Linked DNA regions of Homo sapiens: region 1 is linked to region 2. Evidence: promoter capture Hi-C in human tissues and cell types (Jung and others, 2019). All regions are on one chromosome and are shown on one strand. Each heading gives the region's core, a stretch centred on a gene start or on the middle of the fragment in contact. The rest is flanking DNA. Distances are from core to core; before and after follow the strand shown. Region 1 overlaps NF2 (NF2, moesin-ezrin-radixin like (MERLIN) tumor suppressor). Region 2 holds the start of NEFH (neurofilament heavy chain).

What was found. The method cuts DNA at HindIII sites, captures the fragments that hold promoters and counts their contacts. A contact is called where the count stands out against the background at its distance.
Region 1: a contact is called between a fragment that was not itself captured here and the fragment with the promoter of NEFH in region 2, in 2 of the 25 tissues and cell types used here (dorsolateral prefrontal cortex and liver).

What each region holds. Positions count from the first base shown.
Region 1 is chr22:29,633,478-29,637,231 of GRCh38, reverse strand. It overlaps NF2 (NF2, moesin-ezrin-radixin like (MERLIN) tumor suppressor), which reads right to left. Exons shown (of 16, transcript NM_000268.4): 2 at 356-481. Among named protein-coding and RNA genes, the nearest start is that of NF2, 32 kb to the right of the region's middle. The HindIII fragment of the contact is 3,442 bases long and covers 1-2,971 here.
Region 2 is chr22:29,478,890-29,482,953 of GRCh38, reverse strand. It overlaps NEFH (neurofilament heavy chain), which reads right to left and starts at 2,736. Exons shown (of 4, transcript NM_021076.4): 1 at 1,809-2,736. The coding sequence starts at 2,691. RefSeq lists an enhancer at 860-1,714. The HindIII fragment of the contact is 10,845 bases long and covers 1-4,064 here.

The sequences.
Region 1 (3,754 bases), core at 1-2,500, 160 kb before region 2:
GACACAAATTGGTTATTTTTAAGTATATGAAGATAACAGTAATTTTTATTCATGAAGTTTTTATTCATAAACTGAAAGGCATAAAGCCAGAAGCAATCAGGCTGGTAACAATGGGTAAAGAAGCCAGGGCCAGCAGCAGTCTAATCCTGGTAACTTCTGCTTGCCCAGGAGAGCCTGTGAGGAGAAGGAAACTGGTAGCATCTCTACGTCCTGCTTTCTGCATGACTTAATTCAGGAATGTGCCCCCTTCTCTACTATACAGCTACAGCGCCCCAGTGATGAGCTAGGCGCCTGCTCAGGGAAAAACTGGAAAGCTCACGTCAGCCCCACCAGTTTCATCGAGTTCTAGCCCAACCTTCTTGTCCATTTTGAGCCAGGCCACTGTGTCCTTGATTGTGTACTGCAGTCCAAAGAACCAGGTTTCTCGGAGCCCCAGAGTCCGGCACACCAAATCAAAGAGGTCCTTCCCTTTCCACTTCATCTGCAATAACAAACCAATGGGGAAGGACACTGTGAGCAAAAATCATTAATAAAACCTTTTCTCTGCACTCTCCACTCTCAGGTTCCAAAACGTGGGGATGACACTAAGACAGCTGATGAGGACTGAATTCCTAAATAATTTTAAAGCTTCCTTTACAAACCCATGAGTGGGAAAATACCAATTAGAGCTTAATGGCTTAATCACTGCAAAGCATACACAATACATCCCTTGGACAGTTCCTTACGGATTTTAACATCTCCAAAGCTGCTAATTTAGGAAAGCTGGTAAATAAGCATCCTCATTTAGGAGAGTCTAGCCTCTTAAGTTAACTCGGGGAGATGGCTAGCTTCTAGGGACATTCATTCCCTTGAAATTTTGTTGTTGATTTTTTTTTTAAATCATTACTTTGCCCTTTGATAAAAGGCTAGTATTCCTTTAAATAAGACTGGTTTTACTACAAGTTTTTTTTTAATATAAAGAAATCATAATCAAAGTCATAAATCATGGAGAAAAAGAACCATGAGAGACCAGACAGTCCAATCACAGGTCTGTCCTGTCAAGGATGCCTAACTGAGGCCAAAGGGGAAGCTACTCACCCAGTCACCCAGAGCAAATTCAAACTCCTGGTATCTAAACCCAGGTGACGAATAGATATCAATATACTGTAGTGTGTTTATCCTATAGCCTCACTTTCAAAAGAACCTGAAGCAATGGCAATCTCTTTTCTCAGCTATTCCATCTGCTATGTGGAAAAGCAAGTTCAATGTCTTAAGGGAAGAGAATGGCTGGCAACTTAGTAAATGTTGCCACCTAGTGGCTTTCAAGTTAAACCACCAGGATGTTCCCATACAACCCCTTAGTTGCTGCTTGCCCCCTCCTTGCCCCAACCACCCCTAAATATCAGATGGACATTCAAATACAAACTCGAGTGCATTAGGATCATATGAGATGCATCATAGAAATGGTGGTCATGAAAGAGTAATCTTTCGACAGACATGGGAAAAATGAGACCACTCAATTGCAGAAGCATCCGTCCCTTCCTGCCCTCATTAGAAATCTCCACTCAAAGTCTTGGCACACTGAAGATGTATATAATGAAAAGGAATGAAAAAAATTCTTAGGCAGCCGGGCGTGGTGGTTCACACCTGTAATCCCAGCACTTTGGGAGGCTGAGGCAGGCGAATCATGAGGTCAGGAGATCGAGACCATCCTGGCCAACATGGTGAAACCCTGTCTCTAGTAAAATACTAAAAAATTAGCCAGGTGTGGTAGCGCATGCCTGTAGTCCCAGCTACTCGGGAGGCTGAGGCAGGGGAATCACTCGAAACCGGGAGGCGGAGGTTGCAGTGAGCCGAGATCATGCCACTGCACTCCAGCCTGGCGACAAAGCAAGACTCCATCTCAAACAAACAAACAAAAAATCTTAGGGTTTAGAGACTTGCTATAAAACCAAGAAGGGAAAAATAAGTTAGACCTCTGATACCTGATTGGTTTTTGCTAAAACCTGATTCTACAGGGGAGTTTTCAAGTAGGCTTTTCATTTTTAACACATATGAATGAACAGTGGGTTCTCTACAAGGTACTCAACAGGAAAGCCCATCCCTTCTCTGTGTTTGCAGTCAAAGTCAAGCAAAGCAGCAACCTAGATGGAAGAATATCAGGACCACAGCAGACAAGTAGCTGAGATGCATACTGGCTTTTATCTTTTAGCAGGGCCGTTTCTCCTATCTGTCCTTCAACTTCTGCCCTGTCTCCTCTCTGACTATAGTGGGGCCACTGGAACACTATAAAGATTGAGGTCTTTAGGGATTATTTTGAGAAGAATAAAAGAAAATGATGAGTTTTATTTTTAACAGATGATCTCCTTCCTCGTTTTTAAGGCTGAGTAATGGGCACATCCATTTCCCAGTCTGACAATAGGACAAAAAGCTTTTTAATTCACCAAAAGTTTTAATTCCTACAGGCAGACTTCACTGAAGAAATGTTATTTTGGAAAACTAGAAGTTTCAGGATGCTGATTATCCTCTTGTCTCTATTTTAAGGCAGCTCTAGTATATAAATTATAAATGACTACCTTGCTACAAGATAATGTAACATTAAAGAACAGGCATTAACTTGGAAAAGGTAAACACCCAAGGGTTGAGAAGATCAAGGTAACGATTCCCAATCTGCCATAACTCATGGTCATGGCTGGGCTGGGCTTTGGCAAGAAGGGGCTGTCTGTAAGTGGGGTGTGCAGTGCAGAGAAACAAAAGCTGCCAAGGGAATGATGAGTGAATTTCCTGACATGGGAGTTTAAATTCTCCAGCATAAAATTGTATTAATGCAGTTTTCCTGTATTCCCTTCTACTTTGTTTTTAAAATGCAAAACTGTCTTTGTTGAATGCAAAAAGACAATGTATTTGTCCCCTTGGCACTTGCAATACAGTGAGAAGTGCATCAACTCTGACACCAATTCAGAATGCCCTACTTAGATTTTTAACTTTGACACAAAGGATCGTAGACTGTCAAGAGTTGGAAATGAGCATGAGTAATTACCTAATGTAGACTCATACCCTTTTTGTGCAAATAAGGAAACTGAGTCACAGGATTCTTTGCCAGCTGCCAAAGCATACACTGGCCTTTTTCACGGTGATCTAACATAGGCAAACCGCAGACCCTAGAGTGCCTCTTTTCCTGTTCTGTGGGGTCCCTTTGTTCTTGCTGTCCAGCACTCCCCAGACACCTTTTCCAGTAAGTAACCAGTGTTTGAAACAAAATCCATTCTCAGAAGAGTCAGATATTGCTCGTTTACAGCTCAATGTGAATTAAGCCTCTGTTACCTCCCACTTATTCTTTCAACAAGGATTATAGAGCACACCCTACATGCCAACCAATGTTAGACACTGATGCTACAAAATGGTGGAAGCAGTGTTCTGCAGGAGAAACAGGCAAGACCTAGGTCAGAGAAGGCTTTAAAGAGCAAGTGAGAGTTAGATGCAGGAGAGAAGGAAATAAGTCTTTTTTTAAAAGTCATGCTTTCTACAGGAAACTGCAAGTCATCTTGTAAAGCTTAAACAGACAGGAGGTGGCATGGCGGGAATGGGGCTCCATTTGGGACCAGGTGGCTCAACTTCAGCCAAAAGCTGCAAAGTCTTTGAAGACCCTTGAGCAGACGAGTCATAGGCTCCAATCTGCAATCTGGATGGGCTCTGACAACAGGGTGGAGTATGAGTTGAACAAAAGAAGCCCTGGATCAAGAAGGCCAGAAAGTAGGCCAACCCCTGACATAAG
Region 2 (4,064 bases), core at 1,487-3,986:
GTGTGCCAGACACCATCCTGTATGCTTGACTCACTCTGTCCTGTGAGATAAAGGCAAGTGACTACTCCCCAAGGCCACCCAGCTAGTGAGTGGCAGAGCTGGGACTCAAATCCCCAAAGATCATGCTCTGTCTCCCCCAGTGTGGGATCCAAAAACCCTGCAGGGCAGAGGAAACCCTGGTCCTAATGCCTGGTCCAGCTCCCTAGCAAGGGCCTGGCAGTGCTGGTGGTTCAGATGTGATACCTGGCCCATGGGGCTTAACACTGAGCTGGAGGCTGCAGGTTTGTGGCTGAACAAGTTAATGAGCTTGTGACCTTTAGGAGGCATGAGGGTACCGTGAGCAATCAGGTCACCTTGTAGCCATGGTCCCTTCCTTACAGGTTTCTGCGCACAGTCCAAGGTCAGTGCAGAGCCCGTGGCCTGGGTGCCAACCCCTGTCCCTTTCTCCACCTAGCTGAGCATTGCCCCTGAGCATTGGTAGCCACACCCCGGCCCCCGCCAGCAACCCGCTCGTGGTTCCCAGGAAACCTTCCAGAGGCAGTGGAGGTCTGGAGACTGGTCTTTAGCTCGTAAAAGTGAACATCCTGAATCCCCAGATAGTGGCACTCAGGGCACAAGTCTTGGCGGGGAGGAAGGAAGCCAGCTGAGTGGGCCAGTACAATCCTGGGACGTCTGCCCCTACGACTGGCAAACCCAAAAGAGGTTTGCGCAGGGAGGGGCCTTGCTGCGGAGATGGAGGAGGGGATGGTTCTGCTCTGCAGAGGAGTGGAAAAGGAACAGAAAAAGCTATGCATCAAAATCCCAGCTTTCCCTGCTAGTGCTGGCAAAGACTTAGAAACCATCCAGGTGGTTGGAGATTCTCAACTATTGTCGATCACAGATGCTTTTGGAAAATCACTGAAGCCTCTGCCCTCTCTCTCAAAAACAACGCAAAGTTTTACAGACAGTTTCGTGAGACATCATGGAACTCCCCGGATTAAGCAGCCCAGTTGATCTACCCTCCTCTTTCAACTCAAAAAGAAATGAAAACCAGAGAGGGCAAGTGTTGGTCAAGGTCACCCTGCAGCTGCTGGGCACAGCCTCAGGGCAGCGCAATCTAGCTGACTCAGGGCTGCAAGGAGTTGGGGGAGGGGCAGACTTGGGAGGCTCCCAGCTTCCCTAAAGGAGAAAGGGGACATTAAAACATGAAAGGGCCCACCAGCCACCTCCGCCACAGGCAACAACTGACTGTAGTAATGGTTCCCTCTAGGAAGAAAGGATGCGAAAAGGTCCTGACCCACCCCCACGTGGAAGATTTAAGGTAGGAACGTTAAGCACTGAGCAGGTAGTGGGAAGGAGCCTGGTAGGGGTGAGAGGAATAGAGTTTCTTGCGGGGTGTAGGAGAGGGCATGGCAGCATTGGCGGGGAAGCCTTGCTACTTAGAAGGGCTAAGAGTCTCCAGCGCTTGCAGACCAGAATCCTGCACCACTTTTTTCCTGTAGAGGAAACTTGTTTTTTTCTTGACGGGGGAGGGATCTCAGAGTGGGGTCGCCTAAGCTTGGGGTAGAGAGCAGCAGGGGGCCCAGAGTTGAAGTACAGCCGTAAAGAACCTGGAAAGGGGGAACCGAAGGACAACCCAGAGTTGGGGCGTCCCACAAGAGACCCAGAGTAAAACTGCGATTTAACTAGGGGCATGCACTTTGCAGAGGGAAGGTGAGCAGCGCGCCACTCCACGCGCAGTCCGGCAGCGCCCCCTTGGGTCACGCAGCCCAAAAGTTCGCTGCGGGGTCAGCAGGGGCGCCCCTCCCCCCACCCGCGCGCCTGCGTACCTCGGAACCACTCCTCGGACTGCAGCGTGCTCTGCACCGCGTGGCCTTCAAGCTGCGCGCGAATCTCGCGCAGCGCCGACGTCACGTCGCACTTCAGGGCGTCGCGCGTCTCGGCCTGCATCTGCGCCTGCGCGGCGCCGGAGCCCTGGATCTGGCCGAGCAGCTCGCCCACCTCTTCCTGGTGGTGGCGCCGCAGGTAGCCGCACTCCTCCTGCAGCGCCTGCGCCTTCTTCTGCAGGTCCACGCGCGCCGCCTCGGCCTCCTGCGCGAAGCGCGCCAGCGCGCGGGCCGCCGCCTCGGCCTCCTCTCGCTGCCGGGCCTCGTCGTCTAGGCGCTGGCGCACGTGCGCGATGTCCTCGAGCAGGTGCTCCTGCTCCAGGCGTAGCTGACCGCGCGCCGCGCCCAGGCGCAGCACCGCGCCGCGCATCTCGCGGACCTCGCGCTCGTACAGCTCGCCCATAGCGGAGCGGCCCGCCTGCTGCTGCCGCAGCGCCGCAGCCTCGCCCTCCAGGCTGCGGTTGTGCGCCTCCAGCTGCCGCACCTTGTCGATGTACCCGGCGAAGCGGTCGTTCAGCGCCTGCAGCTGCTCCTTCTCACTGCGTGAGGTGGCCACCGCCACCATGCAGCCCTCCGGCCCGTTGCTCAGCGTGTCCAGCGAGTCGGTGCTTGAGGCGGCGCCTGCGCCACGGAAGCGGCTGGGCGAGGCGGACACGGAGCTCACGGACGTCCGTGTCCACGAGTGGAAGCCGCTGGAGGAGCCAGCGGCGGAGCGCGTCCCGCCTGCGCCACCCTTTCGGGCTAGCGCGTAGTGGAGGCTGCCGCCGCCATGCAGCGGCGCGAACGGGGCGCCCAGCAGCGCGTCCGCGCCGCCGAAGCTCATCATGGCCTGAGCAGGTGCGCGAGGCCGGGACGGGGCGGGAGGCACTGCGGCAGCACCAGGGCGCCGGCCCTTTTATAGCCGCCGCGGCCGGGTCCAACCCCTTGGCAGTGAGAGGGTGGGGAGGAGGGCCCCGCCCTCTCCGCCTCCTCCCCTGCGGCCCCCCGGCCGACCGGCTCCGCCGCAGTGAGAGGGGCGGGGCAGGGGACCGAGGAGGGAAGGGGAATCGACGCTGCGTCAGAGGAGACCCTCGAGGTCGGGGAAGCGGGCAGAGGACTCCCGGAGTGGGCCAGTGAGGACCCCCGGGTGCGCGTCGGAAGAGCCTGCGAGTGTGTTCGGAATAAGAAAGGGGACTTGAAACAGGGAGAGGACAAGGAGAAACCTGATGGGAATAGGGGCAGGATGCCCTCGGGATGGAGCAATGGAAGATTGCAGTCATTAGGATGAGGGGATCCCTGTATGAGACAGGACACGAGGCTTTCCAAATAGTTAAGAGAGGCTTTCAGGATAGGGGGTGCAGAGACTGTGCAGCCAGCCCCGGAACAGAGGAGGGAGCAAGGCAGTCCTGAATGGGAGCATGGACGCTCCATAGAACGGAGACAGGAGACCCCTGACCGGGGGAGGTACAGTGTTCTCCTAACATCTAGAGGACCCACTTGGAGAGCGCTCAGGAAACTCCGCGGCCAGCCCCGGAATAGATGAAGGGGGACCTGGAGTTGGGGAGAATAGCAAGGCTACCCTGAATGGGGGTATGGGAGACACTGCAGAGGATGGAGAGAGGGAACCCCGGATGGGTGGGGTTGGGGGGAGGCAAGGCGTTCTCTAAAAAGTCTGCAGTGGCCCCCGAGAGAGGAGATGGGAGACCCTGCTGCCAGCCCCAGTAAAGGGGACGGACCCTCAGCGAAGCGGGCAGAAGGTCCCCTGAACAGGCAGGAGAAAGCTGGGCTGAGTTTGAGGGGCAGAGAACCTACAGTGGGGGTACCGTAGGAGGGCTTGGGCATGAAGTTGAGAGAGCTGGCCCCTGTGTGGGGTGGGGGGAAATGATGGGTGTCACCCGAGCCAGCTTCTGCACACTGGGGTCAGCTAGGCAGTTTGCTGGTCGAATGACCTTGGACAAGCTGTGTCCTCCCACCCTTGTTTTTCCATCTGTACAACGAAGGGGTCTTGCCCCAGAGACAAGCTCCAACTCCTGACCCCCGACTGCCCCAGGAAGTTCCACTTTGAGGGGTCTCTGGCTGAACTGGGGATGGGGAACCCACATCTTGCCGTTCTGTCAACACTAGGAAGTCCTCTTTTCTCCCTCCCCCTCCCCATCTTCTCAGCCTCAACTTGTCCTCTCTTCCCCCACTCCTGTAACAGACAAGCAGGCGCCTGAGTCG